2 separate regions of the Homo sapiens genome follow, and region 2 is linked to region 1. The links are contacts of gene promoters, found by promoter capture Hi-C in blood cells and fetal thymus (Javierre and others, 2016). All regions are on one chromosome and are shown on one strand. Each heading gives the region's core, a stretch centred on a gene start or on the middle of the fragment in contact. The rest is flanking DNA. Distances are from core to core; before and after follow the strand shown. Region 1 holds the start of GRM1 (glutamate metabotropic receptor 1). Region 2 overlaps ADGB (androglobin).

Region 1 (5,076 bases), core at 1,279-3,778:
CAGCAGATAGTTTTTTCCAAAAGCAAAATCTGAAATTATAATGTGTAATCCTATATCATTTATGTTTGTTCTGAAAATTCTGTTCCCTTTATAAAGTATATGTTTTCAATAATGATAACCATATAATCACTTCACTATGGATGCTGTCAATTTCTATAATCAGACCTCACGCCAGTAACTGAATATTATGGAAATATTAAAAAAACATGGAGCCATGCCTATGGCTTCTTGAAAGTCATTTGAGTTGAAGAAATATGAATACAGAAATACCAGCAAGATTGTCTTCTTCTGCCAGCTTATACATGTGAATTGTCCTAGATGTTAATTTATAACCAGGGCTTCAGCTTTTTCATAAACCTACTGGGGGACTTAAGAGTAGCTGAGCTCAGAAATCCCCTTTTATTAAAAAATGTATATAACCTAAGGTGAAGAGAGTCTAGAAAATCTTTATATAAAAAATTTTTGAAAATTCACATCCATAAGTCTCTGGAAAAATCAAAGCTTTTAACCTTAGGTTAATCTATTGCATTTTAGAAAGACATTATAAACCTAATATCTGCTATCCATTCATTAGTATTTTATAACTGATCTAACTTTAATTCTAATATGTAAGTTCATTGTGTTAGAAGAAAAAAGACTAGAAACCAAAACTCAAATCCAAGTGGTCACCAGTGTTATTTCTCATAAAACAAGATAATTCTTGGGGGAGTGAGGGAATCTGGATGATTTTAGCCTATAAAGTAAGAAGAAAATACATTATTTAAATTACTTACTTTTTCTTTGTAACTAAGGTACTCCAGAAGTAAAAATATAAGTTTCTGATATACTGAGGGAGATGACTGCATTAATCCTACATTCACAGGAAAGTTTTGGATATGTAAGAAGGGGTACAAGAGGACAAAGAAAATCTTCAACTGTTAAAGAAAGATAAAGCTTTGAAGTCCTATTTGTGGAATAGTAACTTCTTTTTGCCAATCACTCACACTGAATTAACTCATTACACCTGGAAAGTCATAGCCAGTCACTGAAGGGCAATATAACACCTTGGACAAATAAGCCTTCCAAACGCAAACTCAAAATATGAGGGCAAACAAGTATTCAAGTCAAATCTACTGCTGGACACTTTGCATGGAAAGTTTGATACCCTTTCAGCTCCTATTATCCTCAGATATTCTATGGGGTACAATTTTCCTACACTATAATTGTAAGGAAATGAGGATAAAAGGCAATGCCTGGGTGGGCAGTACTGAGAAGGGTAAACTCCGTTCCCCACAGTGCTAGAAATAAACAGGAACAATACTATGATCCCAGGAGCACATCATGCATTGCCCTGACTTTCTCAGTACCCTTCTTTCCCAAATATAATGCCTACCTTCCGTGTGGACTGCAGAGACATAGGTCCAATTGTAACGTTTGACTATGTCAAGCATGGCCCTTGCCTGCAAAGTGTCAGAAGGGACAACCCTCAGGAAGTATTTGTACAAAGTTTTGTCACTCAGGTCGATGCTTGTGGCTGAATAAGCGATCTGGGGGATGTCGAAGAGCTGGAGCAGGTTCTGCACTTGAATGGCTACAGAGCTGGAGCCGGGACCGATCACTCCCGCAATGGGCTTCTTAGTCCTGCCTGGGGGGAGGGACTGGCCGTCAGGCAGACACCGGTTGATCCCATCCTTCTCATCTCGAATGGAAATCAGAGAGTCCCTAATGAACTCAATGCTCTGTTCCAGAGCCACGGAAGAGTGCCAGCAGGAGTCCCGGATCTCACTGCCCAGGGTGATGTTGGGCAGGAGGACCGGGTCCGCGTTGATCTTATCCAACGTGTGGAACATGGCCTCCACCCTCTGGATGCCATACTGCTCCCTGATCTCCCCACACTTCCTCTCGGGCACTTTCTCGGCCGGAGGCTGGTGATGGACTGAGAAGAGGGCTCCAATGATGACATCTCCGTCCATTCTGGCCACCGAGCGCTGAGACGACGCTCCTGCCAGCAACACTTTCCTGCCGGGGCTTCTGGGGAGAAGGGACACCTCCAAAAAGATCGCTGGGAAAAAAAACAAAAGGAGCCCGACCATGGTGGTGAGGACGAGGTCCACAGCCTGCCAGCCGCGTTCCCACGCTGGTCCCGCTGCAGGCTCCCGGCGCGCACCCCCAAGACGCCCAGCGCCGCCTCTCCCGGAGTGGTGCCCCTCGCCAACAATGGTCGTCCAAGGCCTTTGCCTCCTCCACCACCGCCTCCTTCCCCTTCGTCTCCTCCTCTGGGTCCTCCACGACCGCCTCTACAAGCTGGAGGCGTTTGTAAGGGAATTCGAGTCCCCGTTCTTCACCGGTAGTGCATCAAGGTAAATTGATCAAGAGTACAGTGGAAGTCGTGTTGGCAGCGGTGAGCTAGATGCTGCTGACAAAAGACAGAGAAAAATCACAACCTTGTCATCAGAGGACCTGTGTTAAAACTCTGGGGTCTATAATGTTAACAGTTGCCTTGTCCGTTTCATTTCGGCACATCCTGATATCGGCTGCAGGAACAGCTTGGAGCGCAGCTGTGGTCACTGAGGAAGGCGGGGTGTCCTGCCCCCTCTGTCCTCACGGGTCCAGGCGGCGCAGAGCCCCGCCAACTCGCCCGCTCCTCCAACCTTAAGTCGTTTCCTGGTCCCCTAAAACCTATCATGCTTTCTAACTTGGAGGGCGGTGGGGAAGGTGAGCAGAGAGGAGGGGAGGAGCTAGGTCCTTCAACCCAAGAGAACTTTCCGGATTGGAAAAGATCAACTTTTTTTCAGAAGAAAATTTGGAAACTCATTGTAAAGGTGGAAGCGCGACTTTAAAATAAACGTAAACAAAGGATGCACCTTTTACTTTAATTTTGAGGGGTTGAAGAAGCCCTGACATAAAATCAGCTGTAAATATAAATTTGCCAGCTTGAAGAAAATCCACATTAGTTACTAAGGCAACGCCTGGTAAAGTCTCCGTATGGAGGAGTTTGGTATGTTTCCCCCGTAAGAAGTCAGGCTTGCTGTGTATGTTCAAGAAGAAGGGGTGCAGATAAGGTAACTTGTTTCCCGCGGTGGGTGGACGGGTTAGGGGGGGTCCTGCGCTTGCTTTGGGGTTTGCATAGTTGCTAGAAAGGGAACGGAGGGGAGCTTCCGGGTTGCTCTCGCCGCGGCAGCCTGAGCCCTGCCGCCTTCAGGACCCTGGACAGTGCTCGGTCCAGCCAGACATTCCCTGGCAGGGCCTGCAAGGGACGCTTTGACCAGTGAGTTGCAATTCCCTGACCCGCTTTGCTCTTTCAACCTCCCTCCTCTGAGTTCTTTACCCATACACACACACACACACACACACACACACACACACACACACACACACTCCCTTCCACTCGAGTCCCCACCGCCCCTCCGCCCTCATTCTCATCACCTTGCACCGCTTGTGCAGGTATATATCCAAACCCACCCGCTTGGGGACAGAGGCGCCAAATCTCAGCCGCCTGCGGGGCTGAAGTTGGCTCCCTCTCCCGTTCCTCCCCTGCTCCTTTTCTCAAGGTGAGAGTCGACGAAAAGGGGGCTATGGGAGCGGGCGAGGAGAGCACAGGAGGTGAGGCAGAAAAAGGAGAAAGAAAACCCAGGCACCCATTGGTCCCGACTCTTCCTGAGGATACAGGACGAAAAGAAATACATAAGCGAGAATGCGCCTGGGACCCGGAGGAAAATCTGATAGACTGGGACTTTGTCTGCCGTTGTGGGTGGGTTTCACCGGAGGAAGTGTCCGCTCACCTGAGTCTGTTTGGAGGACATGGACTTGAGACATACCTGAGTACCTGAGTCGGGGTAGACAGCGCTATGGTCCCGGGGCCAGAGGACCGTGGCCACGCTCGGCTTGCAGACGCCTCAGCTCTAATCCAGACGGTGCAAGGATGCGATCTGGGCTGTACACTAGTGCCCTCTTTCTTCAGCACTATTTTACCGCAAGGGAAAAAGAGGGGGAGGGAAGAAAAAAAAAAACAGGTCACCCAAGGCTTGTCTATTATCTCATGTATAAAAATCAGTCGTTTGATAGAGGGAGGAGGGGAGACAAACTAGGAGGAAGTGGGGAATATTAATTCCTTTACTATATGAGGGGTCGTATAGAAGCTGCCAGATACGTGAATAGTCAGACAATCTGGCCAAAGAAGTGGAGAACTGCCTAGGCTGCTTTGGGGTAGATATCTTTGTATATATATCTCAGGGACTCAAATATATTTTCTCTTTCTGCGAGTAAAGTCCCTACAGAGGGAAACAGAGTGTAAACACATGTACAGACATCTAAAGAAAGGCTCTATTAGTAGATTGCAAGGGAAATCAGGAAGAGGCTGCATAGGGTGGGAGAAGGGAAAGGACAGGCATGCCCATTATGAATTAAGGTATGCCAAATGAAGAGAGACATATTGTGGCTGCATTTTCAGGTCAAGATGTAACTAAATTGAGAATGAGAGTCAGGTCACATGAAAATACTGGAGTGACAAATACTTATCCAAATTCCTCCCAGGCGGCCATCACCTTCCCTACAGGTCTATGGTGTTGCTTCTGACTGTGTGAAAAGCGGAAGTTAAATCACATTCCTCTGGGAACATGTTGGCTGAGCAGAATGTGGCCCGGCTTTTTCAGGGGAAAAGACAAGTGACAGTGTGTCTTTCTACTCTTGTTCAAAGCTTTCTATTTGTGTCATCTGCAGAGCAGAGAGATCAGCTTACGTTGGTCCCTTATGGGTCAGCTTATAATCGCCTTGCTCAGGTCATTATTATATTATGGAATGGTGCCATGTCAGACTGGAGGGGACAAACCACATGAGGCAGTTTCAAATACTCTTCAGTGTGTTCCATGAAACTTAGGAAGGAAAACAATACCTCTAGTCAATAACAAAAGGTCTTTCTCATTCTGGTTCTGATCTTTTTTTCCCTAAGTGTCAGAGTTTTCTGGATTTTTTTTTTTTAGACAGCCCAAAGAGAATATATTTTTTTCTTTTTCCACAAATAATGCACTAAACAACGTTCACATTTTTTAGACTAAATGATCTCAATTCGGGAAGTAGCCACATGTTTACATAAGGAAA
Region 2 (5,076 bases), core at 1,497-3,996, 590 kb before region 1:
GTGGCCATGTAAAATATAGAATTTTGCAAAATGGTCCAATAGTTTCTTAAAAGCTTAAACATATAATACCATATGATATAGCCATTCTACTCCTAGATAATTCAAGAAAACTGAAAGTGCATGTACATACATGAATATGAATAGCAGCTTTGTTTGTAATAGCTAAAAACTAGAAATAGCCCAAAATGCACAACAGTAGGTAAATGAAAAAAAATCATGGAATATCCATTCAATGGACAGTGAATATTAAAATAATTATGAGTGACAGCAAGATGACAGAATAGAAGATCCTAAGCATCATCACTTCCCCCACAGAAATTCAACTTGAAACTATTAAAAGACAAGAATATCTCCCTAAATTCACCAGAGCACAGAGGGAAAGTAGAGAAACCCATTAGGGCATCAGAGAAGTTGTGACTAGAATAGTCATTTTAGACTGTGCCAGCCCCTCTCCCAAGCTGGCATAACCACTCAAGAGGATTTCTCTAGACCTGTGGTTTCCATGGTGATTGGAGGAAATGAGAGGTGGACGGTCAATCTCCTCACCTTTTGGAATCTTCATGGGAAGCCCACCCTGACTCCTTTCCAGGGGAGCAATTGGGTGTACCAGGAAAGCTGAACTACCTGTGATGAACTGGGCACTAATCACAGTAACTGATGCATGGATTTTGGCAGCTACTTTGTGCTCCAGTCAGTGGGGGTGCCACATTAAAGAGACTGGCCAGTCTCTTTTATGTGCCACAGATGGCACAATCCATGGGAATGCCTAAATCCCTAGCTGGATTTTCCTGGCCTGGAAAAAAACTAAAAGATCAGAATTAATACCTAGTGCCAACTTAAGTCTTCCCAAGACCAGAAAACAATGGCAGGGATGCAATATAGTTATGGGTCTAAGTTTAAGTTTTGGTGCTCACTGTAAGTTTTTTCTACACGAGGAAACAGTAACAGGGCAACATGTTAGTTATAGTGCAGTGTTTTAGTCCTGGTGCTCAACATAAGTTCTTCCCAGGATGGAAAGCAACAGTAGAGCAGTGTTTAAGAGTCAATACTAAGTAGTAAAAGTCTAAAACCACCAAAGAATGTCAGCAAAAACTGGAAGTGGCTGTCTCATCAAATGCTCAGGAATCAACATAAGAGTTGCGAAAACTCAGGAAATATGACATCACCAAAAGAAACCAACAAATCTCCAGTAATTGACCCAGAAGATTTGAAGATCTATGAGATCTGGCAGAGTATTTAGAATAATTCTCTTAAAGAGGTTTAGAGAATCACAGAAATACCTGACAGAAAACTAAATAAAATTTGGAAAACAATCTAAAAACAAAATGAGAAATACGACAAAGAAATAGAAACAATTTTTCAAAAACCAAATAGAAGTCTTAGCAATACAGAATAAAATAACTGACCTGAAAAAAATCATTAGAAAGCTTCAACAACAGATATTCTCAAACAGAAGAAAGAATTAGCAAGCTTGAAGATGGAACATATAAAATTATCCAACCAGTGGAGCAAAAAGAAAAAAAAAGAATAAAAGTGAGTGAAGAAAACCTACAAGAATTATGGGACAAGAGAATCAAGTGAATTAATATCTGTGCAATAGGAATTTCTGAAGGAAACAAGAAAGAAAAATGCCTAGAAAGCATATCTAAAGAAATAATGGCTGAAAATTTCCCAAACCTGGAGAAAGATTACAACCTTCAGGTAAAGAGAGGACGCTCAGACATAACCAATCAAATTCAACCCGAAGAGGGATTCCCCAAGGCACATCATAATTAAGTTACCAAAAATTAAAGACAAAGAATCATCAAAGCAGCAAGAGAAAATAAAAATATCACATTCAATGGAGTCCCAATATAACTTTCAGGGGGCTTCTCAGCATAAATCCCGCAAGTCAGGAGAGACTGGAATGTGATATTCAAAGTGCTGAAGAAAAAATACTGCCAAACAGTAAGATTATACCCAGCAAAGCAATCTTTCAAACTCAAAGGAGAGATAAAGACTTTCCCAGACAAACAAAGGCTGAGGGAATTCACCAACACCAGACTTGTCTTACACGAAATACCAAAAGAGAGTTTTTCAATACAGAAGAAACTGGATGCTAACATATAACAAAAACATCTGCAGTTATTAAACTGACTGGTAAAATAAGAAAAAAGAAATCCAGAATATTCTAAAACTGTAACTGGGCTAAGTAAACCATTTATACTTTTAATAGGAAGTCTAAAAGACAAAAGTATTAAAAATAATTACAACAGTTAATTAGTAAATAGTAAATAGAAAAAGACATAAATTGAAATACCAAAAAGTCACAATGTTGGGATGGGGATGATGTTGAAGTTGAGAATTTTTGTTGTTGCTTTCACTGTGATCAAGATTAAGTCATTAGCAATTTAAAATAACGTGTTATAACTGTAAGATATTTTCTGTATGCCTCATGGTAACCATAAAGCAAAAACCTATAATAGATACACTAAAAATAAATAGCAGAGAATCAAAACATACTGCTAGTGAAACTTATTTAGCTATAAAGAAATACAGTAAGAGGGTGGGAAAAGGAAGAAAGGATCTATTTTAAAATCCCAAAAACAAGTATCAAAATGGCAGTAATAAACCGTTATCTATCAATAATAACCTTGAATGTAAATTGATTAAATTATCCTATTAAAAAATAGAGTGGCTGAATGTATTTTTAAAAAATGATCCAAATATTCTGTCTATGACAAACTCACTTTGCCCATAAGGACACATACATACTGAAAGTGTAGAGATGGAAAAACATATTCCCACAAATAAAAACCAAAAAAGAGCAGAAATAGCTATACTTATTCAGAAAAAACAAACTTTAAGTCAAGAATTGTAATATATCTATATCTATCTATCTATATATATATGGTTATTACATAATGATAAAGGGGTAAATACAGCAAGAGGATGTAGCAATTGTAAAAATATATGCACCTAATACTGGAGAACTCAGATATGTAAAGCAAATATTAATAGACATAGAGGGAGAAATGGACAGCAATACAAGAGTAATAGAGGATTTCAATCCAATAGAGGATTTCAGCATTGGACAGATGATCTAGACAGAAAATCAACAAAGAAACATTGGAGTTACACTGCACTCCAGATGAAAGAGCCCTAACAGACATTTACATAACATTTCATCCCTCTGCTGCAGAAAACACATTTTCTCAACAGCACATGAAACATTCTCCAGGACAGACCATATGTTAGGTCACAAAAGAAGTTTTATCAAATTTTAAAAAATCAAAATCATATCAAGTATCTTTTCTGACTATAATGGAATAAAACAAAATGAAAGCAAAAGGAATGCTGGAAACTGTAAAAATTCATGGTGATTAAACAACATGCACCTGATCAACAAATGTGTAACTGAAGAAATTAAAAAGGAAATTTAAAAATTTATTGAGACAAATAAACATGGAAACACAAGAACTGCAGGATATGACAAAAGCAGTTCTAAGGTGAAAGTTTACATGAATAAACACTTTCATCAAAAAAGTAGAAAGACCAAATAACTTAATAATGCACTTCAAGGAACTAGAAAGGCAAGAACAAACCAAACACAACATTAGTGGAAGAAAAGAAATAATAAATATCAGAGCTATTTCTGACGAATAAAAATATACAAAAAATCCACAAAATAAAAAGTTCATTTTTTGAAAAGATAAAACAAATAGAGAAACTTTTAGCTTGACTAAGAAAAAAAAAACCGTAAGACTCAAATAAATAAAATCTGAGACAACAAAGGAAACATTATAACTACAAAAATACAAAGGATAATTAGAGACTGTTATGAACAACTGTAAACCAACAAATTGGTGTTATGATGGAGACCTTTATGATAATCCAATTTCATTTAATAAACAGTAAATATATTTTTCTCTTCTTTATGATTTTCTAAATAACATTTTCCTATCTCTAGGTTACTTTATTATAAGAATGCAGTATATATAACATATACATATGACACACAAAATATGTGTTAATCAAGCTTTTATGTTATTGGTAAGGCTTTCACTCAGCAGTAAGCTACTAGTATTTAAGGTTTTGGGGATTCAAAAGTTATACACAAATTTCTACTGTGCAGGGGTTGGTGCTCTAAGCCCCATGTTGTTCAAAGAACAACTGTCCTGGCAAACCGAATTCAACAGCACATTTAAAAAATCATATACTGTGATAAAGTGGGATTCAGCCCAGGGATGCTTGGATGGTTCAACATATGCAAATCAATAAGAGACGCATAGCATCAATGGAATCAAGAAGAAAAACCATATGATTATTTCAATAGATAATTGAAAATGCATTTGATAAAATTTAATAACCCGTCATGATAAAAACTCTACATAAATTGCGCATAGAAGGAATATACCTGAAAACAATGAAGGTCACATATAACAAACCCACAGCTAGCATCATACTAAATAGGAAAAAAAAATTGAAAGCCTTTCCTCTAATATCTGGAACAAGACAATGATGCCCACTTTTACCGCTTTCATTCAACATTGTATGGGAAGTCCTAGCCAAACCAATTAGGCAAGAGAAAGAAAGAAAGGGCATCCAAATTGGAAAGAAAGAAGCCAATTATACTTGCTCCCAGGTGACATGATCTTATGTTTAGAGAAACCTAAAGACTCCACCAAATTACAGAACTGAAAAATGAATTCAGGAAAGTTGCAGCACACAAATCAACATACAAAAATAGGTAGCATTTTCATACACCAACTGTGAACAATTGAAAAAGAAATCAAGAAAGCAATCTCATTTATAATAGCTAAAAGACAATAAAATACCTATAAATAAATGCAACAAAAGAAGTGAATGATCTCTACAAAGAAAACTAAAAAACACTGATAAATAACATTGAAAAGGACACAAAAAGATGAAAAAAAATCTCATTCTCATAAATTGGAAGAATTATTATTGTTAAAATATCTATACTAGGCGCAGTGATCTACAGACTCAATGCAATCCCTTCCAAAATACCAATGCCATTCTTCAGAGAAATGGAAAAAACTATTCTAAAATTTGTATGGAGCCCCAAACAACACA

The links. The method cuts DNA at HindIII sites, captures the fragments that hold promoters and counts their contacts. A CHiCAGO score of 5 or more calls a contact.
Region 2: a fragment that was not itself captured here is called in contact with the fragment with the promoter of GRM1 in region 1 in 1 of 17 cell types (endothelial precursors); the score reaches 7.2 in endothelial precursors.

The regions. Positions count from the first base shown.
Region 1 is chr6:146,026,514-146,031,589 of GRCh38, reverse strand. GRM1 (glutamate metabotropic receptor 1) reads right to left here and starts at 2,528. Exons shown (of 8, transcript NM_001278064.2): 1 at 1,373-2,528. The coding sequence starts at 2,072. RefSeq lists enhancers at 1,709-2,209, 2,210-2,710. The HindIII fragment of the contact is 3,742 bases long and covers 936-4,677 here.
Region 2 is chr6:146,616,926-146,622,001 of GRCh38, reverse strand. All of the region lies in intron 1 of ADGB (androglobin), which reads right to left. Among named protein-coding and RNA genes, the nearest start is that of ADGB, 20 kb to the right of the region's middle. The HindIII fragment of the contact is 2,548 bases long and covers 1,473-4,020 here.